6 separate regions of the Homo sapiens genome follow, and regions 1, 2, 3, 5 and 6 are each linked to region 4. Evidence: promoter capture Hi-C in 16 types of primary human blood cells and fetal thymus (Javierre and others, 2016). All regions are on one chromosome and are shown on one strand. Each heading gives the region's core, a stretch centred on a gene start or on the middle of the fragment in contact. The rest is flanking DNA. Distances are from core to core; before and after follow the strand shown. Region 1 overlaps LOC124907851 (a long non-coding RNA gene). Region 2 overlaps KCMF1 (potassium channel modulatory factor 1). Region 3 has its middle 25 kb from the start of LINC01964. Region 4 holds the start of RETSAT (retinol saturase). Region 5 overlaps SFTPB (surfactant protein B). Region 6 overlaps USP39 (ubiquitin specific peptidase 39).

Region 1 (3,756 bases), core at 223-2,722, 360 kb before region 4:
CTCTCCTGCCATTAAGCTTTTGCATGTGTTGTTCCCTCTGCCTGGAACACCTTCCTATCCCCCCACTATTCACTTAGCTGGCCCCTTCTCATCCTTCGAGCCTCAGCTTCAGTGGTATTTCTCCAGAGAGCCCCTTCCCTTACCACCCAACTACACTGCACCCAGTTCACTTCCTTATGAGCTCTTACCACAAGTCAGAATTATATTTTTTTCATGTTTATTTTCTTGTCGATGCACTCAGTTGTAAGCTCTATGGGGGCCACATCGGCCCTTACTAAGAATTTGTTGAATGGAGAAGTGACTTGATGAGAAGGCTGTTGCAAAGGGTAATTAATGCCTGAAGCAATTGTAAAGTTGTGGTGGTGATGGGGGTAGGAAATATTGACCAACTCCAACTCCCCAGTGAGACGGCTTCTTCCAGGCTACCGTGGACTAAACTTGCAAGGCTTTCTCCTCGCTTCAGAAGCTAAAGTGCCTCTGAGATACTGCGGGTTCTCCAGAGGGCTCAGCCTGGGTTCTGTCCTACCTTGGCTCTGACAGCTCAACTGGTGAGACCTCAACCTGGAGCAGGTCCAGCCAGAGCCAAGGAGCAGGCAGCCAGCACCAGAGGAGAGGCAGCCAGCTGCTGCCATCATGAGAGATGCCTGGCCAGCTCTCTAGAAATAGCCCAAGGTCAAGGCAGGGTGCTTCTGACCTCTACAGATGGCAAAACCTGGAGAGACTCTGTTCTTGAATCTCTCTCCCACTCCACTGCCAGGATCCCTGCCCCTGGCCTGGAGCACCCTGATTTTCAGCCACCCTTCACAGACCCCTCCATTCATCACTGCTTACAAGGAACCCCCAGGCTTCTAACCTTTTCTCCTCCCAACACACTTCTGGGGTGCAGAGGACGGGTGTTATCCTCAGCTTGCAGTAAAGGGCTCTGTGGCTCAGGGAGGTGCACGGTCTCTTCCAAGGTCATGTGGTGAGTTTACTGCTGAACTGGAATTCAAATTTAGAGCTCCATTCCAGGTTCAGCGTCTCACCCCATCAGTATCTGCCACACGTGGGATGTGCCTAAGTCTCACAGCCCCGCTCAAGTATCTGACCTAATCTATGTGTCACTTACTGGGAGGGTGAGGGCAAGGTCCTTGCTTTGTGGACTTTGACCCCCTTCCCTGGACTTAGGAGAACCTTTCTGTCTTAAGCTGCCAGCCCTAGCTGATTTTCCCAGGAGCCAGCTCTTGCGTGCCCAAATCCATGGCGTTCATCTTCACCTCTGGTTACTCTGCCTGCTTGACCAGCTCACTCGCCAGACCTCACTGCTGGCCCGACCACCTGAGCCCACTGTCCCCACACCCACAGGACACCCCCTCCATGAACAAGGAAGGCCGAGGACCCTGGGGACCCAGCCACAGCTTCATAGGCCACTTGTTCTGAGCAGGGCTCTCCGTCTCCCTTCTCTTGGAGGTTCCCACAGCCTGGGGAGGAAGGAGCAAAGATGCAAATCAGGGGACCATAAGGACTGTACAGGAGCAGATTCAGGGAGGAAAGCCACCTCAAGGGACCAGGACAGGCCAGGCAAGGTGGCTCACGCCTGTAATCCCAGCACTTTGGGAGGCCTAGGCGGGCAGATCACGAGGTCAGGAGATGGAGACCATCCTGGCTAACACGGTGAAACCCTGTCTCTGCTAAAAATACAAAAAAATTAGCCAGGTGTGATGGCGGGCGCCTGTAGTCCCAGCTACGTGGGAGGCTGAGGCAGGAGAATGGCGTGAACCCGGGAGGAGGAGCTTGCAGTGAGCCAAGACCACGCCACTGCACTCCAGCCTGGGCAACAGAGTGAGACACTGTCTCAAAAAAAAAAAAAAAAAAGGGACCAGGACAGGACAGGCAGCTGGGAGAGGGAGAAGAGAAGCCCACAGAGGTAGGTGGCTGTCCCTATGAATAGGACAGGACAGGGCAGGCAGCTAGTAGGATTTTTATCAATCAGATGACAGCAGACAGAGGAGAGAAAGGAATTAAGAGAGAATAAAAAGTGGAAATTTTTTGGAGAATAGTGTTTGTCGTCAAAGGACATTCAATAGATCCAAGTAAAAGCTGATAGAATGTCCTCCATCAGACAACCCTCAGAACATGAACCACCCGTGGTATGTCTTGAAAATATGGAGATTCCATGCCCATAGGTGTCGCAAGTGCACTGCAAGCTCTAGTGGCCCCTTCACATGGTCGTGATGGGGAATTTGAACATCTATGACTGTTCTCTGGCAAGTGGTGGTCGGGTGTCTAAAGCGGGGAAGGATATCTTTTCTGAATCTGTTGGGCTACTGACAGGGCTTCAAACAGGTACTTCTAGGAAGTTTGAAATCAATATTTGCCCTTCCGAAGTGAAAAGATTTGTAGTGCACACTTGCCTGCTTGACTCATTTGCATGGCAGCCCTTTCCTCCTAGAGCATGGAAAGGTTGAAATGGATTCGCATCTGTTCTTAATTACAGAGGCCGAGACAGATGTTATCTTACATGCTAGGGAGGGGCACTCACCAACACTGTGCTGTCGACAGCAACAATAACTCCCAGGCCTTTTGTGCAATATATTAATTTGGAAATTATTGACAACTCCTATCTTGCGTGACGTAACGTGGCAAGTGTACACAAAGTCTTCTTGAGTTGTCTTCGTCACTAGCCAGCCTCATGACTCTTTTCTCCCTGTGTCTGTACTTCCCAAGACAGCATCTCTGTTCCTCCCGTTTAATTGCACATTGGCATTGAAGAAGCCATTCACATCCAACACTGCAAGCTGTCATAGACATGCTCTGAAAAATGCGTTTTTAGAGTCTTTAATATACTCACGTGCACCGCCAATCACCAAAAACAGAGCAGGCAATGTTTCCCATATCTATTTGACCACCGGTAAGATAAGGGCCTCCCATGAGCTGAAGGGAAGCTTCCTACTTAAAGCAGGGATTAAAGCATTAAACAAAAGAGTGACTGAGGAGGGCTCAGAACCATGAGGGAGGCTGCGGGGGGCAGCCCTGTGACACCACCCGTGGAGGCCGTCTGATTCCTGACCAGCAGTTTTAAAAGATGTATTTATATATAGTGTGCATGCATATGTGTGTGTTACACTTTTAATTGACAAATAAGAAATGATATTTATTTATAGTTTACAACATGATACTTTGATATACGTACACACTGTGGAATGAGTAAATCAAACATATTTATCATCCCACATACTTAACCATTTTTTGTGGTGAGAACATTTAAAATCTACTGTCTTCGACTAGCTTATTGAAGTGGGGCGAAAAAACTAAGAAAATAAATAAATAATAATGTTTAGAATCTACTCTCAGCAATCTTCAAGTATATGATATGTTATTATTAACTGCAGTCTCCATGCTCTACAAGAAAACTCCAGAACTTATCCTCTGACCAGCAGTTTCTGGTTGACACAAAGACCTATTTCCAGAAGTTTCTTGAAGATACCATCAGGAAAGTAAATAGCAAATAGAATGGTTTGCTCTGTCATTATAGAAAGTAAAGATTGAAGGTCTCTCGGATGACCCAGCCATCAGCTGCAGTTCCCTGGCCTTATTCATTGCGAAGTCCGAAGCGGAGCCCCCATGTGTCAACACGTCACCACCACCATGTCTACGTAGGGCTGGAAACCGTTCCCCGCAGTCCTCTTCCTCATGCTCCCAGGTTAGAGTTTGCCAACAAGAGGATCTTGCACAGGACTTGGAAGGCAGAAGGGAAGCAGAAGTGATTGTTCTCAG
Region 2 (3,223 bases), core at 90-2,589, 310 kb after region 4:
TCCTGAGAACCTGCTGCATCTGACTGTACAGCCTACTTAGTGGCCTGTTATGATCCAGACTGTCTTGTGTCCATAAGGCTGTACTCATTAAGAGAGGTGTAAACTTTTGTCCCCGCATCCTCATCTAAGTAAGGTACAGTGAAATGCCTTCTTCCAAGTGGAGGGTCCACCTCGCTTATAGGGAATCGATGACTGCCTTGCAGACACTTTCAGGCCAGCAAAAACTCTTTATCATTAAAACTCATTAACAGTTTGTTTTCTTGCTCACTGTTGCTTTATCCCAGGCTTTTTATAGCACTCTTATACCACTCTTTCATGGAATATACAGTCTATCACTAAAATAAACTAATTTTCACTGACAGAAAAAAAATCAAATGAAGAAAATTTCTCAATTTTGAATTTTGCTCCCAGAAACTACTTTAATTTTTAGTGCCTGCCACCAAAATAGCAGGTAAATATTCCCTTTGGATGAAGAAATATTTTTTAAATCCCCCAAACTCAGTTTATTAGGCTTGTTTTTGTTGTTGCACACACAAATGTCCAAAGCACATTTGGAATTAAAATTTTATATGGTATATCTAACTTTTAAATAACATGATAGGTATAAAATTGTTCTTAGGTTGTTTTTCTTTTTTAAATTTTTATTTTAGGTTTGGGGGTACATGTGAAGGTCCGTTACACAGTTAAACACCTGCCACGAGGGTTTGTCATACATATTATTACATCACCCAGGACCCAATTAAGCCCAGTACCCAACAGTTATCTTTCTGCTCCTCTCTCTCTTGCTACCCTCCCCCAGTGTCTGCTGTCTCCTCCTTTGTGTTCCTAAGTTGTCATTTAGCTCTGATGTTCTCAGTTTCTATTACAGATTTACACTTATCAATGTTTCAGGTGTTCTGCAGGGTGCTCATGGCTTCCAGGTAGGTGCACACTTCACCACATGGACACATTTCAGAATTGTTGCTTTAAATGTGTGCACACTTCCCACTGTCTTACCACTTGTCTGCTTGGTGTGTCTTGCAGATTATCAGGCTACAGTGATTTCTTGTATTTTATTTTGACCCTGTGTTCTGCTACCAACTTCCTAGGTTTGTCATGTACTAGACTCAGTGACATGGCCAGGTTCAAAAACTGTGTTTTTTTTTTTTTTTTTAAGATTTTTCCCAAGCTATTAAACATGTACCTTTCAGTATGTTCTACAACAATATAGTTCTCAAATCAAGGTCAGGACATTAAGTCCTACTTTCCTTTCTTCCATGAGAAGAGCTTAATTCTTTAGTCTTTTCAATTAGCTATAGATAACAGTTCTGAAATGTGTCCATGTGGTGGAATGTGTACCTGGAAGCCATGAGGCGCCTTGCACAACATCTGAGATAGGCATAAATCTGTGACAGAATTTTACACATAACATGTTCTTAAAAATGTTAGCTATACCTTATAAAACCTTAATTTCAAATGTGCTTTGGACATTTTTTTATGTGTACTTATGGAGATTTAACCATGACATTTTGGAGGTATTCAAGTTGAAATCTTTTATGATTTCCTTGGGCTTCAATAGAGGCCACAAATACAACATAAAACCATTTCTTATCATCTTTTGTCTCTAAGAACAGTAGTCTCCCTTTACCTGCAGGAGATACGTTCCAAAACCCCCAGTGAATGGCTGAAATGGGCATTTGGATAATACAGAACCCTATACATACTATGTTTTTTCCTATACATACTTATCTGTTGTGCTAAAGTTTAATTTATAAATTAGGCACCTAATTTATAAATTAGGAACATGAGATTCCCAACAAAATAGAGTAAATCTAAAAATATACTATGAAAGTTATGTGATGTGGTCTCTCTCTAAGTATCTTATTGTCCTGTACTCACCTATTTTTTGACTGTAGTTGGTTGTGGGTAACTGAAACCCAGGAAAGCAAAACCACATGACGGGGGGACTACTGGACTTAAGCAATGCCAGAAGAGTATGAATTACTTTATGTTAAGTGTCTGCTTTTAACACATTTTACACTTTTAATGTATTTGGGAATTTTGTGAAGGAACATGGCTTATGATCAGAGAGGTGAGACTTAAGAACACAAATCTCACAAAAAGTTTTTTTTTTTTTTTTTGAGACAGGGTCTCACTCCATCACCCAGGCTGGACTGCAGTGGTGCGATCTCGGCTCCCTGGAACCTCCACCTTTCAGGCTCAAGCGATTCTCATGCCTCAGCATCCAGAGTAGCTGCGATTACAGGCACCCACCACCAAATCTGGCTAATTTTTTTATTTTTAGTAGAGATGGAGTTTTGCCATGTTGGCCAGGCTGGTCTTGAATTCCTGGCCTCAAGTGATCCACCCGCTCCAGCCTCCCAGAGTGCTGGGATTAAAGGTGTGAGCCACCGCACCTGGCATCACAAAAAGTTTTAAAAGGAGCTCCTCCTTCCCCTGCCATTTCCCTTATTAATGTGAAACTAACTTACCAGCTATAGGATCCATGGCTTCCCTATTGCTTGGAGAATATGAACTCTGAGAAGAAGAAAGTCCACCAGTAGAACTGCTAGTAAAGTGCATGTTTGATCTACGAGCACGAGGACCTCCTAATCCCCGGCCAGGGTGAAACATTCTACGTACATGTCGAACACCACTCGATTCATCATAACCCAAAAGTTAAGAAAAAAACGAAAGTATTTCACAGAAAGAAAAAAAATCACCTGAGTCCTTGCTAGACAGATGTAAAGATTTCCTGAATTGTAAGCATTTAAAAACAGCACATTTAACTTAAAGTGCAAATGTCCCAACTCTATCTATGAGGGCTATTAACCCTAAAAAGACACTCAAATGTAAGGCAACATGTGAGTGTGTGTGTGTGTATTGGGTGTGTGAGGTAAAAAAGTTTCTCTATATAGCTCATGAAATCTCAAATACCACCTATAATGAAAAAGGAACAATACTGAATGTATATTCAGCACATCAAAGGTTCCTTTTGGATTATTAGTTTTACTCTGTCTTCAAGCTTCTTTCCAATGCCGCTGCTAAGCAGAAAACAGATTTGCATTTCTTGTATAAGACACACAGATAGATTAACATGACATTTATCACGAAGAAAAATTCCCAGCAGCCTCAACCGTCTTACACAGCTGAGTGTAAGTCAAACTGAAAAAGGTCCTGAGTTGCAAATAGCTGTCAAAACTCATGAAGACAACCTTACGTTTCCACAAAGGCAAATGAGAGG
Region 3 (3,559 bases), core at 175-2,674, 260 kb after region 4:
AGGGGGAGCGATAGCATTAGGAGATATACCTAATGCTAAATGACGAGTTAATGGGTGCAGCACACCACCATGGCACATGTATACATATGTAACTAACCTGCACATTGTGCACATGTACCCTAAAACTTAAAGTATAATAATAATAAAAAAAAGAAAAAGAATGGAGATTATCTCAGGTAAATGGTTTATAAATAAACTTTTGCCTTCTTTCTTAAAAAACAAAACAAAACAAAACAAAAAACAAAAACACAGAGGGCCTTATTGCACTTTGGGGGAGCAAAATCCTCCCATTTCTCATGCTGCATATTGTTCTAGAGTCCATTCAACTCTAAGTTGCAAAGTCATATTGCAAAGAAGCCTGCATACAGGAAAGAGAGGGATTTGTAACCATTTTTAAAAATCTACCACTAGCAGGAATATTTTGTTGTGCCAGGAAGCACAGAAACTGTCAAAGACTAATGAAGTCATTTGAAAAGGACATATGAGACAACTTGAGGGGGCTTCACTGGCCTAACATGGAAAAATTAGGATTTGTTTTTAAATACTCAAGAAAAGTCCAGGCACAGTGGCTCATGCCTATAATCCCACAGCTTTGGGAGGCTGAGGCAAGGGAGGATCACTTGAAGCCAGGAGTTCAAGACCAAACTGGGCAACATAGTGAGACCCTATCTCTAAAAATAAATAAATAATTAACCGGGCATGGTGACATGTGCCTGTAGTCCCAACTACTTGGGAGGCTGAGGTGGGAGGATTGCTTGAGCCAGAGAGGTCGAGGCTGCAGTGAGCCATGGTTGTGTCACTGCACTCTGGCCTGGGTGGCAGAGTGAGACCCTGTCCCAATAAAATAAAACAAAATACTGAAGAAAAAACAAAATTGGAGTGTGGAGAGATAAAACAGGTTTGACAGAATGTTGAGAATAGCCAAAGCTTAGTGATGGACAGAGGAAGATTAATTTTTTTTAGTCTCTTTACTTTTGGTATGTTTGACATTTTTCTTAATAAGAATTTTCAAAAAGTCACATGTATTTAGGACAAAAAAATTTAGAAAACACAGAAATGTAAAAAGTGAAAAATAATTGGTTAATCCCACCACTCAGAGATAAGTGTTGGTAATACCGGACTGTCCTTCTAGGCTGTTCCTATTCATATTTGCAAACTGTGGCCTCCCAGCCTTGCTCAGAATGTCACTAACCATTGTTGTCTTAGTCTGTTTTGTGCTGCGATAGCAGAATACCACACACTGGCTAATTTGTAACAAACAGAAATTTATTTGGTTCATGGTTCTGGAGGCTGGGAAGTCCAAGATTGAGGAATGCATCTGGCGAGGGTTTCTTGCTGCGTCATAACATGACTGAAGGTATTGCATGGTGAGAGAAGGCAAGAGATTGAATTTGCAGTCTCAAGCTCTTTTAAAATTGGCATGAATCTATTCATAAGGGTGGAGCCCTCATGATCTAAACTGCTCCCATTGGGCCCCGTCTCCCAATACTGCTGCACTGGGGATTACATTTCCAACACATACTTTTTGGGGGACACATTCAAGCCATAGCAATCGTTAAGTAAACACAGCCTTCTGCGACACACCAGGGAGCTGTGCCTCATGGTTACTGGTAGGAGAAGCAACTTGCTTGCACATTGTTACCTGTAATTTGGATCCTATGGACTTGGCACTGTGGCTTTGGGTCCCATGTCTGAAACCCTTTTTTGTTTTGTGCGTTTTTTGTTTGTTTGTTTTGTTTTGCCCTGACTCAGGATCTTAACACTTTGGGAGGCAGATCCCTTCTGGCCCTTAGGGAGATCTCTTCTGAAACCTGTTTAGCTGCCTATTTCTGGGCAGGCCGCCACAACTACAAAGGGAATTGTGAGTATGCCACAAACCTATATTTGAATGCAACCTATCCTAAGCATACCCTAAGCTTCCCTTTCCTTTTCACATTATTAGGTAATAAGAAGACTGAAATGTTGAAATGTTGTTTAATTTATATGGATTTATTTTACAAATGTCACCAAATCAGAACCATATTCTACTTTTTCCACCTTACATATCCTGGGAATATTTTTGTGTGCTATTAAATATATATATATCTATATATATATATATATTTTTTTTGAGATGGAGTTTTGCTCTTGTCACCCAGGCTGGAGTGCAATGGCACGATCTCAGCTCACGGCAACATCCGCCTCCAAGGTTCAAGTGATTCTCCTGCCTCAGCCTCCCATGTAGCTGGGAATACAGGCGCCTGCCACCACACCTGGCTAATTTTTGTATTTTTTGTAGAGACAGGGTTTCACCATGTTGGCCAGACTGGTCTTGAACTCCTGACCTCAGGTGATCTGCCCGCCTCAGTCTCCCAAAGTGCTGGGGACAGGTGTGAGCCACCACGCCCGGCCTTAAATATACTTTCTAATATGATATTTTGTGCTGGCATAATTTTCTGAAGTTGCGTGTTATACATTCAAATTATTTTCCACAGCAATTTTCACAGCTCTAAATAATGCCACAATGAATATTTTTATAAATAAATCTTCCACTACCTCTCTGTCTCTTAGAATAGGTTCCTCGATATGGAATTACTGAATCAAGGCATTTGAACATTCATTTAAAACTCTTCATATGCATCTTGTTTTATGTTAAAATGTTGCCAATGTGATATGTGAAAAAATGATATTTTCCTTTTTTTTTTTCTTGAGACAGCAGGTTTCTCTGTCACCCAGGCTGGGGTTCAGTGATGCAATCATAGCTCGCTGCAGCCTTGATCTCCTGGGCTCAAGCAGTCCTCCTGCCTCAGCCTCCCAAGTAGCTGGGACTATAGGCACGCACCACCATACCTGGCTAGTGTTTTATTTTTTGTAGAGACGGGGGTCTCACTATATTGCCTAGACTGGTCTCTAACTCCTGTGCTCAAGCGATTCTCCCTCCTTAGCCTCCCAAAGTGCTGGGATTACAGGCATGGGCCGCAGCATCTGGCTGATTTGCTTTTCTTTGATCACTGGTGAAACAAACAAACGAAAGCATTTTAATGATTTTGGCGAAAGGTCAGGAGACATTAAGTGAAAAAGGACCCAGAACTCACTCTTTTGAATGACAATTTCTATAATATGACCTGCCACTACTTTAGCACTTGGTAGGAATTAGTATTAGAACATTGGAGCTGGACAGATTTGGGCTTGAAGTCCAGCACCTTCCAGATGTAACCTTGCGCAGATTCCTCACCCCATTTCTTCAACCTGTGGGAAGGGAGTCATAGGAGTCCCCGCCATCCTGTGTGCCGTGGCAATTTCATGAAGTCAAGTCTTAGCTTTTGCCTGCCCTGGAGTAAACACTCAACAAGTTAACTGTCAGGGCCATGACATACACGGACATTTGGAAATATTATCAAGTGTAAACAGATTATTGCTAAATGGTGGTGTACCATGTGATATTTTTGTTGTTCCTTTTTTACCTTGTTCTGTGCTGTTGAAGTTTTCTTTGTGTTTTTGTTTTTTTGTGTGTTTTTTTGAGGTGGAGTCTCCCTCTGTCGCCTATGCTGGAGTGCAGTGGCGTGATCTCAGCTCACTG
Region 4 (3,394 bases), core at 895-3,394:
TGACCTCGTGATCCGCCTGCCTCGGCCTTCCAAAGTGCTGGGATTACAGGCATGAGCCAACACGCTCGGCCTGTTGACAAAATTTAAGCAGCTGTGAATTTATTCTGAATGAACAACTTGCCTCAGCCAAATGCTTACCTCTTACTACCCAAGCCACAGGATGGCCAAAAGGGGACCACACAGGGGACTGTGAGCTGGATTCTGTGTCCAAAAGGCAGCAGCACCACTAGAAGGGATGGGGTCTGTTTCTGACAATGGAGTTACTGGGACCTGGGCCAGCTTATCAAAGGCGTGAGGCTAAAGGTGTCACCTTGGTGGGTGGTCTTAGCTGAAGTGCTCAGGCTTTGTTTAGGCCTCACACACAGGCTGGGTCAGGGGCTTATAATACTAGACCTGGTTCCAACAATGGTAGAAATTCAAAATGCAACACGATGTTCTAACCTTTCTCAGTTATCAGCAATACTGTGCATGTGGCAGCTGGCTAGCCAGTTTGGGCAATTCTAAGTCTTTCATCTGACATTGCTTCCCTCAGGAAAAGGGCTGGACAAGGCTCATACCTCATCACAGGGGAATTGGACATCCGGAATGTCTGTCACATCAAAAATTGCATCCTAAGTGGGCAGATGGCCCACACACAACTGACAATCATAGTTCACAACTTTGGGTGACTAAGGAAGGAGGGTAGCCTCTCTATGAGGTCAGCCCTCCAGGATGCCATAAAAACTGGCTGCTGGTGTCAGGATGCTTTGATTATTAACACTGAGAGGAAGAATACCTCCTGGCTCTTGGGCTTGACATGTGGCTCACTGTAATCCGGGGGACAGGGCAATGCCCCCTTAGTCCTGGCACCCCAGGAACTAAACTGCTCTCACTGTGGCCTCTGGGGCCTCAACATCTGCCTCCCCTTTCCTTTTCCTCCATCATGGCCTCCATGACAGCCTATGACAAAACACACATTGGCCAGCCTTGGCAAGGTGACAGGCGGGTATGGTAATAGCAATCTCAGGAGGGCTCTTCTGTTGCTGTGTAGAAAATGAACCAAGTAGCATAGAATCGTGACCAGCTTTCCACACCTGGCTGGAGCACTCCTGGGGCCTTCAGTAGGGACAGTTACTATCTGTAGCAGAGAAGAAAAGAGCAACAATTCCATTAAACAAGGAAGTACTCAAAGGCAAATTCCTGATAGTTGGACCTAAGGAAACGGCCTTCCTGTAAAAATGGATCCTTCTCCAATCAAGTATTCATTATGCACCCTCTTTAGGCAAGGAGGGGGTATGATTCTTCAACTGCTTGCTGGAGGTTAGATTCTCTGCATAGGAATTTAAATTAGATGGGCCCTTAGCTGATCCTTTCACCATGCTTGTCCATGGGCGGCTCCCCGTCCCCCAGGTTCCCCACGGATGGGGTGTCATTAGGGACCCGCCATAGAGGACTCCGTCCCAGGCGGGCCCCCAGGACAAAACTATGGGCCACTTTGAGGGGCACAGAGACAGACGCTCACCGGTTGTGATGCGCAGGTAACAGAGAGCTCAATTCATCATGACAACCAGTCAGACAGGGGCTGTGAGCAGCCTTTGGACAGAACTTTCGCATAGCCTGGAGGCGTAAGACGAGGAAAGCAATTTAACACCTCAAGGCAGCGAGTCCAGGGCAGAGCCAGGACCAGAACTCAGGACTCCTGTCTCCCAGTCGGGATTCTCTTTCAGTCTTACAACTCTCGGCCTTGTCTCGCCCCATAGTGATAATTTCCACCGGATCACATTCTCCCTCCCTCCTCAGGCCGGCTGCTAGCTCCGCACAGGCACCAACCACTCCCCTTGGCAAGTGTTAACGCGTTCTCACCGTTAAAAGAGCTTTCCAAACTTGGGGGTCCCGCCGCCTCGGCTAGGCCTCATCTGCTCATGCGCACAGCCGCTTCCGTGCCGGCTCCCCTGGCCCCGAGAACTACATTTCCCAGTAGGCAATGGAAACCCAAAAGAAGTACGGAGAGCCGGGAGGGTCAATCATCACCTGAGAGTTGGCTCTTCGCTGGCTGGCTGGTTAATCAGTGCTCAAAGCTGCCTCCGCCTCCTGACTGGAGAGCGAACTAGCCCGGGCGGAGCCACAGTCCTAGAGGCTGAGCGCAGTCGGAGCTGTCCCATTTACCCGACCCGACGCCGGCGTGATGTGGCTTCCGCTGGTGCTGCTCCTGGCTGTGCTGCTGCTGGCCGTCCTCTGCAAAGTTTACTTGGGACTATTCTCTGGCAGCTCCCCGAATCCTTTCTCCGAAGATGTCAAACGGCCCCCAGCGCCCCTGGTAACTGACAAGGAGGCCAGGAAGAAGGTTCTCAAACAAGGTAGCAGGAGGGACCCTGGGGTCCGGGGCTGCACTCGAGGCTTTCTCACAGATTTGGGTTCTCATTTTGCCAAGGCAGCCGCTACCAGACGTGGGCCTTAGTTTCCCCATATGTAAAGTACTAGGAGGGCTTCCTTGCACGTGGAGGAGCCCCGCTTTAGTGTGCAACACTGTCGATAGCCTTTGCCCTAGTAGGCCCCGGGAATAGTAGTCCCAAGGGTGTGGTCATTGTCCTTGGTTTGCAAGGTGTTGGCACCCGCCCTGCCACTTGTAATCCCCGTGGCTCGTGGAACTGATAATCCCCGTGACTCATTCCTCCACTTGGTTCCAGGACCTTAACTTTTTCACCTACCCTCCCATGCGAGCTCAGGGGTGTGGGGGAGCAGCACAGAAATGCGTAGGAAATTGCGTTTTGCCCGTCCGGTGATTTAACAGGCTTTGCATGGTCCCAAATCGTAAGGATTGAACCCTAGTTCTGAAACATTGGCAGAGGTTCAACAAGGCGCCTCAGGCTCAGAGCCTGCTCTCCACTCTCATCTTTAAAACATATTTTGTGGTTGCTTCTAGAGTTTAAAGAGTTCTGCTGCTTTAAAAAATAATGGATCACCTGTTTGATCTACGGAGTCCCTCTCACTTGTAAATTTTAGAATTCTCCGTGTCATATCTTGCTACACAATCGGAGACAGTACTGTTCTAAGTGGAAGGACTAATCATCTGGACTTCTGAGAACTGAGTTTTAGCTTGGACTCTGTCACTAATTTGCTGCATAACCATTAGCACCTACCTGGGCTGGTCTAAAAATGAGATGACTAGCTTAACTGCTTTTCAAACCGGATTGTGATCTATTAGTGGGCTATGAAATCAATTTAGTGAGTTGCAACTGGCATTATTTATTTATTTATTGAAACAGAGTCTCGCTCTATTGTCCATGCTAGAGTGCAGTGGCGCGATCTCCGCTCACCGCAACTTCCGCCTCCTGGGTTCAAGTGATTATCCTGCCTCAGCCTCCCGAGTAGTGGGCATGCCCAGCTAATTTTTGTATTTTTAGTAGAGACAGGG
Region 5 (3,300 bases), core at 773-3,272, 300 kb before region 4:
GCAGGAGGATCCTTGAGGTCAGGAGTTCGAGACCAGCCTCGCCAACATGGTGAAACCCCATTTCTACTAAAAATACAAAAAATTAGCCAAGTGTGGTGGCATATGCCTGTAATCCCAACTACTCAGAAGGCCGAGGCAGGAGAATTACTTGAACGCAGGAGAATCACTGCAGCCCAGGAGGCAGAGGTTGCAGTGAGCCGAGATTGCACCACTGCACTCCAGCCTGGGTGACAGAGCAAGACTCCATCTCAGTAAATAAATAAATAAATAAAAAGCGCTGCAGTAGCTGTGGCCTCACCCTGAAGTCAGCGGGCCCAGGCCTACCTCACTCTCTCCCTTGGCAGAGAAGCAGACGTCCATAGCTCCTCTCCCTCACAAGCGCTCCCAGCCTGCCCTCCAGCTGCTGCTCTCCCCTCCCAGTCTCTACTCACTGGGATGAGGTTAGGTCATGAGGACACCAAAAACCTAAAAATAAACAAAAAGCCAAACAAGCCTTAGCTTTTCTTAAAGACTGAAATGCCTGGAAGTGTCCCTTTATTTATAAAATAACTTTTGTCATATTTCTTATACATGTTTCTTGTAAGAAATTCAGAAACTACAGACAAAGAGAGTGGAAATTACCCACTGTCAGGCCTCTGAGCCCAAGCTAAGCCATCATATCCCCTGTGCCCTGCACGTATACACCCAGATGGCCTGAAGCAACTGAAGATCCACAAAAGAAGTGAAAATAGCCAGTTCCTGCCTTAACTGATGACATTCCACCATTGTGATTTGTTCCTGCCCCACCCTAACTGATCAATTGACCTTGTGACAATACACCTTCCCCACCCTTGAGAAGGTGCTTTGTAATATTCTCCCCACCCACCCCACGCCCGCACCCCCGCACCCTTAAGAAGGTATTTTGTAATATTCTCTCCGCCATTGAGAATGTGCTTTGTAAGATCCACCCCCTGCCCACAAAAAATTGCTCCTAACTCCACCGCCTATCCCAAACCTACAAGAACTAATGATAATCCCACCACCCTTTGCTGACTCTTTTTGGACTCAGCCCACCTGCACCCAGGTGATTAAAAAGCTTTATTGTTCACACAAAGCCTGTTTGGTAGTCTCTTCACAGGGAAGCATGTGACACCCACAATCCCACCTAGCCCAGGAGAGAGCTACGGCAGGGTGTGTGTTTTGACACTGAGCTTGGGGCTTTTTCCATCTTCTCCCCACAGCCTCTGGCTCCACACCTCCACCGTTCAAGCGCCAGAAAGAGCTGTCTATGCAGCCTGCTCTTGGGCCTGGGGATGAGACACACAATTCATTGGCTCCTGGATTTTAAGTAGACATTTGTAAATCTATAGCTAACTACTGTCCTTAAAGCCATTGTTTCCATTACAAAATCCAACTCTCTGAGAGAAAAGGGTGTTTTAAATTTAAAAAAATAAAAACAAAAAAGTTTGATTGAGACAATGAAGAGCCAATGTTTGAAGAACTGGAGGCATTAATAGTTTATCCCAAAAATATGAGTGGGAATGAGTGCCTGATAATGAAAAAGGCGGCTTCATTCAAAAGGAGGTCAAGAATTGGCAGACTTTGGGAGGCTGAGGTGAGTGAATCACTTGAGCCCAGGAGTTCAAGACCAGACTGGGCAACGTGGCAAAACACCATCTCTATAAAAAATATAAAAATTTGGCTGGGCATGGTGGCTCACACCTGTAATCCTAGCACTTTTGGAGGCTGAGGTGGGTGGATCACTTGAGGTTAGGAGTTCCAGACCAGCCTAACATGGTGAAACCACATATCTACTAAAAAAAATACAAAATTAGCTGGATGTGGTAGTGCATGCCTGTTATCCCAGCTACTTGGAAGGCTGAGACAGGAGAATTGCTTGAACCCAGGAGGCAGAGGCTGCAGTGAGCCAGGATTGCGCCACTGCACTCCAGCCTGGGCAACAAGAGCAAAACTCTGTCTAAAAGAAAAAAAAAAAAGATACAAACATTAGCTGGCCATGGTGGTGTGTGTCTGTGGTCCCAGCTATTCAGGAGGCTGAGGTGGGAGGATCGCCTGAATCCAGGTCAAGGCTGCAGTGAGCCGTGATGATGCCACTGCACTCCACCCTGGGTGACACAGAGAGATCCTATTTCAAAAACAAATAAATAAATAATTTTAAAAAAGAGTTGACTAGCTGGTAGGAGGACAGAATTGGCAGGAAGTGGCTACACTTGAGACTCCTAGGGTCCCTGAGAAGTGTCCAACATCCTGCACCTCTGCCCTTAGGAAGTTGGGGGAAGAGAAGTCCCAGGAGGGATTATAGCCCAAGAGGAGGGGACTTATTCTTCACTTTCCAGGGTGTGGGCTTCTAAGAGAAGCCTGCCTCTCACAGGACATCAGAAAGGGTGAGGACGCTAGCCTGAGGGATGGAGCTAGGCAGCTGGCCTGAGGTCTGCCTCACAGAGTGTTCCCAGTGTGATGTGGTTGCAGAAGAGCAACCTCAACCCACAGACCGAGAGGCAGTCAGAATTGGCTCTGGACAAGATGGTGCACCCGTAAGAGCCCACGGTTGGGGATGAATCTGTGACAGATTTAGTGGATCTTGAGATGAGCAGAAATCAGATGTGTAGCAGTGATGGCACAAGAAGATGATGATCAGGCAAGACGAGAGACACTCCAGAGAGACCTGGATGGCCAGGGAATGCTTAGTCCCCAGTGCCTCTCCTCACCGCAGGGCAATCTGTAAATCATTCCCAGGGAAAGGGGAAAGAGGATTCAGTGGTTAGTCAGCCAAGAGAGGCTGAGTATTAAGAAGGGAATGAGTTACTCCGAAATGGAAATAATATGTTTTGAGGGCTCATGAGCCAAAATGAGTTCAGTTATAGAGAAATAAAGATAATTACATTATGTCCCCCTAATGAATAACTGAAATTTTAAATCCACGACATAATCATTATTAACATGTTATTATCTATAATTCCAAAGCTTTCTGTGCACATATACAAAAACAGATACAGCAGATCTACAAAATGGAAACATCCTATACATGCTGCTTTGTAACCTGCACTGTTCATTTAACAATAACCTTTTCAGGTCAATAAATGTAAGTATCTACTATTATTGCTAATTGCCACATGACAGCTCTGTCTCCCAGGCTAGAGTGCAGTGGTGCGATCACTCTGGGGTTTAAGCAATCCTCCTGCCTCTGCCTCCCTAAGTGCTGGGACTACAGGCGTCAGATACCATGGCTGGCCCTTACTTTTTTTTTTTTTTTTTTTTGAGACAAGAGTCTCACTCTGTCATCCAGGCTGGATTGCAGTG
Region 6 (3,523 bases), core at 622-3,121, 280 kb before region 4:
GGTAAGTATAGGCAGGGCAGGTGTGTTAATGGGCTACCTTCTCAGTGATGCCATTGAACTTAGCCAGGATGTTGAAGAGTGGCACTTGGGGAATGATGAGCTGCTCCTTCTCGTCCTTGTAGAGGGGGGCAGTAGGAAGGTCCAGCGTCAGGTACATAAAAGTGGACTCCACCATTGTCTCCTGGTACTCGTCATTATGGAGCAACTGCTCTTTTTCTTCTGCTGGCTAGAAATGAATGAGAAGAAAAGAGAGGAAAGGAGTGTGACGGGTATAGGAACCAACACAGAACCGATGTTTTACCACGCCGACATTTCCTTCATCTGAAAGAACAAAGAGAAGTGCCCGAGAGATTGGGCAGTTTGGCATGCACCACCTGGTTAGATTAACTTAAGAACCAACAGGTTTCCTTCTTTAAAGATATTTTGCTTATATACCAGACTATCTAAAAAGCCCTGAGGCCAAGTGTGATGGCTCACGGCTGTAATCTCAACACTTTGGGAACAAAGGTGAGAGGACTGCTTGAGTCCAGGACTTCCAGACCAGCCTGGGCAACACAGTGAGACTCCATCTCTACAAAAAAAAAAAAAAATTGGCCGGGCATGATGGCTCACACCTGTAATCCCAGCACTTTGGGAGGCCGAGGCAGGTAGATCACCTGAGGTCAGGAGTCCAAGACCAACGTGACCAACACGGAGAAACCCCGTCTCTACTAAAAATACAAAATAAGCCGGGCGTGGTGGTGGCGCCTGTAATCCTAGCTACTCGGGAGGCTGAGGCAGGAGAATCACCTGAACTCGGGAGGCGGAGGTTGCGGTGAGCCGAGATAGTGCCATTGCACTCCAGCCTGGGCAACAAGAGTGAAACTCCGTCTCAATAAAATAAATAAATTAATTAATTAATTAAATTAAACAAAAATAAAAATAAAAATTAGCCCGGTGTGGTGGTGTGTATCTATGGTCCCAGTTTCTGGGGAGGTTGAGGTGGGAGGATCACTTCAGCAAGGGAGGTTGAGGTTGCAGTGAACCATAATCACGCCACCACACTCAGCCTGAGTGACAGAGATCTTGTCTCAAAAAGGAAAAAAAATCCATTAAAAAAAGAAAGTGGGCCGAGCACGGTGGCTCATGTCTGTAATCCCAGCACTTTGGGAGGCCAAGGGAGGTGGATCACCTAAGGTCAGGAGTTTGAGACCATCCTGACCAACATGGTAAAACCTCTTCTCTACTAAAAATAGAAAAATTAGCCAGGCATAGTGGCGCATGCCTGTAATCCCAGCTACTTCGGAGGCTGAGGCAGGAGAATGGTTTGAACCTGGGAGGTGGAGGTTGCAGTGAGCTGAGATCATGCCATTGCACTCCAGACTGGTCAACAAGAGCAAAACTCCATCTCAAAAAAGAAAAGCTCTAAGACCATCTAGGAAGCTTAGCTGAGGGCCAGGCACGGTGACTCACGCCTGTAATCCCAGCACTTTGGGAGGCCGAGGCAGGTAGATCACCTGAGGTCAGGAGTTCGAGACCAGCCTGGACCAACATGGTGAAGCCCCGTCACAACTAAAAATACAAAATTAGCTGGGCGTGGTGGCAAGCGCCTGTAATCACAGCCACTCAGGAGGCTAAGGCAGGAGAATCGCTTGAACCCAGGAGGTAGAGGTTGCAGTGAGCTGAGATGGCGCCACTGCAACTCCAGCCTTGGCGACAGAGGGAGACTAAGAAAAACAAAAAGAAAGCTTAGCTGAGCTTTCTGAAAAAACACAGCAGCACCACCTAGTGGCCAGAACACTTAAACCAGCACAGTACATCCAACCACTAACTCCCAAACTGAAAAAGTGCACTAGTATGACAGGGACCAGGCAGAGCTGCCACTAGGCAGGTGCTTTGTTGAACCTCTTCACAGGGCAAGCAGGCTTGTCAGTTCTCTGAGCATCTCTTCATCTCCCCTACGTCCCCTCAAGCAATATGAATCAGTCCAAGACCCAGGCTCAATTAACTCACCAGATCAGGATGGGGAAGCTTTTTAGTGAAGATCCTCATGGACCCCTGGAAAACATCAGTCACAATAGCTGCACAAACAGGAAGCAAGAGACAAATTCCGTGAGGATGGAAAACATGTCTGAAGTATATTTCCAGCTTCTAAATTTCTGAAATAAACCAGCATCTTCCAGCAAAAGACACAGAGCTCTCACTAAACACAGAAGTTTCCTTTTGTACTATATACCACCAGGGTACCTTTATAATTATTTGTGTAAATAATTACTTTATTTCTCTTAAGACAACTTTTTATCCTCCATCACAGGGCCTGGTCCATAAAAGAAAAGGTAAATGTGTTCAAAATGAAGGAATGGTGATACATGAATTACAAAAAAATTCACAAGCAAAACAAGGTACAGCCAAGGAACTTCCCATAACCATAAGCTACTTTCAAAGGGAGACAATGTCCAAACTGTAATGAAGACAAGAGGACAATGACAGACTAAGAGATGGGCCAGAACAGGATCAAAGCAACAAGAGAGAAAGCACAACCAAGTTCTAGAACCCTGCCAAGACGCAAGTTAGAGAGCTCAGAGGGTTAACACAGGCTGAAGACACCTGGTAGAGAGGGCAGGGCCATCCAGTGGGAAAAGCAACAGGCCACAATCCCACATCAAGACACCATCACATCTATAATCCTAGCACTTTGGGCAGATCACCTGAGGTCAGGAGTTTGAGACCAGCCTGGCCAACATGGAGAAATCCCATCTCTACTAAAAATACAAAAATCAGCTGGGCGTGGTAGTGGGTGCCTGTAATCCCAGCTACCCTTGGGAGACTGAGGGAGAAGAACTGCTTGAACCTGGGAGATGGAGGCTACAGTGAGCTGAGACCGTGCCACTGCATAGCCTAGGTGACAGAGCAAGACTCTGTCTCAAAATATATATATAATAAAATATCATTGGGACTATAACCATATTCTAGCAAAAACTATGGAGAGGGGCCTATTCAGAAAGAACATGTAGTTTATCTATAACATAGATACTAGCCTACCCCAGATAAACAGTTAACAAAAGAATGGGAAGTTGCCTCAGCCTCCCAAGTCGCTGGGACTACAGGCACATCCCACCACACCTGAATAACTTTTGTATTTTTGGTAGAGATGGGGTTTCGCCATGTTGGCCAGGCCGGTCTCAAACTCCTGACCTCAGGTAATCCACCCACCTCGGCCTCTCAAAGAGCTGGGATTATAGGCATGAGCCATTGCGACCGACCGCAAAGTTTTTTAAAAGGGAACAAAATAACTCCTTTTTATAAGTAAATGACTTACTCTTCTTTTTCTTCTTTGTGCCCCCCAGAGCTGAGTGCAGAGCATTCAGAAACCAAGACAGAAAGTCAACGCCATCTCCTGGAAAAAAAGGAAGGGTGGAAAACGTTGAAGCTAAGTGGCATTAGAGTTAACTTAAACCATGCACTGGTTGGCATTCCTGGTTCTCCCCCTTCCTCTCTGGCCATGCCATCCCATCCCAACTGCCGTGCATCCTCCTCTATCTTA

The links. The method cuts DNA at HindIII sites, captures the fragments that hold promoters and counts their contacts. A CHiCAGO score of 5 or more calls a contact.
Region 1: a fragment that was not itself captured here is called in contact with the fragment with the promoter of RETSAT in region 4 in 1 of 17 cell types (erythroblasts); the score reaches 5.5 in erythroblasts.
Region 2: a fragment that was not itself captured here is called in contact with the fragment with the promoter of RETSAT in region 4 in 1 of 17 cell types (endothelial precursors); the score reaches 5.3 in endothelial precursors.
Region 3: a fragment that was not itself captured here is called in contact with the fragment with the promoter of RETSAT in region 4 in 1 of 17 cell types (endothelial precursors); the score reaches 7.1 in endothelial precursors.
Region 5: a contact is called between a fragment that was not itself captured here and the fragment with the promoter of RETSAT in region 4, in 1 of 17 cell types (M1 macrophages). The highest score is 5.7, in M1 macrophages.
Region 6: a contact is called between a fragment that was not itself captured here and the fragment with the promoter of RETSAT in region 4, in 9 of 17 cell types (erythroblasts, M1 macrophages, total B cells and 6 more). The highest score is 9.7, in erythroblasts.

What each region holds. Positions count from the first base shown.
Region 1 is chr2:85,716,658-85,720,413 of GRCh38, reverse strand. It overlaps LOC124907851 (a long non-coding RNA gene), which reads right to left. Exons shown (of 2, transcript XR_007087118.1): 2 at 3,107-3,717. Among named protein-coding and RNA genes, the nearest start is that of GNLY, 24 kb to the right of the region's middle. The HindIII fragment of the contact is 2,908 bases long and covers 19-2,926 here.
Region 2 is chr2:85,045,527-85,048,749 of GRCh38, reverse strand. KCMF1 (potassium channel modulatory factor 1) reads right to left here. Exons shown (of 7, transcript NM_020122.5): 5 at 2,472-2,646. Among named protein-coding and RNA genes, the nearest start is that of LINC01964, 20 kb to the left of the region's middle. The HindIII fragment of the contact is 3,334 bases long and covers 1-3,006 here.
Region 3 is chr2:85,090,304-85,093,862 of GRCh38, reverse strand. No RefSeq gene overlaps it. Among named protein-coding and RNA genes, the nearest start is that of LINC01964, 25 kb to the right of the region's middle. The HindIII fragment of the contact is 989 bases long and covers 930-1,918 here.
Region 4 is chr2:85,353,278-85,356,671 of GRCh38, reverse strand. It overlaps RETSAT (retinol saturase), which reads left to right and starts at 2,144. Exons shown (of 11, transcript NM_017750.4): 1 at 2,144-2,336. The coding sequence starts at 2,165. ELMOD3 (ELMO domain containing 3) reads right to left here and starts at 1,903. Exons shown (of 14, transcript NM_001135022.2): 1 at 1,843-1,903; 2 at 1,502-1,596; 3 at 1,074-1,117. RefSeq lists enhancers at 1,447-1,506, 1,141-1,640, 1,677-2,076, 1,641-2,142. The HindIII fragment of the contact is 19,367 bases long and covers 1-3,394 here.
Region 5 is chr2:85,655,472-85,658,771 of GRCh38, reverse strand. SFTPB (surfactant protein B) reads left to right here. Exons shown (of 11, transcript NM_000542.5): 11 at 1-1,458. Among named protein-coding and RNA genes, the nearest start is that of SFTPB, 11 kb to the left of the region's middle. The HindIII fragment of the contact is 1,889 bases long and covers 1,078-2,966 here.
Region 6 is chr2:85,635,906-85,639,428 of GRCh38, reverse strand. USP39 (ubiquitin specific peptidase 39) reads right to left here. Exons shown (of 13, transcript NM_006590.4): 7 at 3,299-3,376; 8 at 1,993-2,060; 9 at 38-226. Among named protein-coding and RNA genes, the nearest start is that of USP39, 21 kb to the right of the region's middle. The HindIII fragment of the contact is 283 bases long and covers 1,730-2,012 here.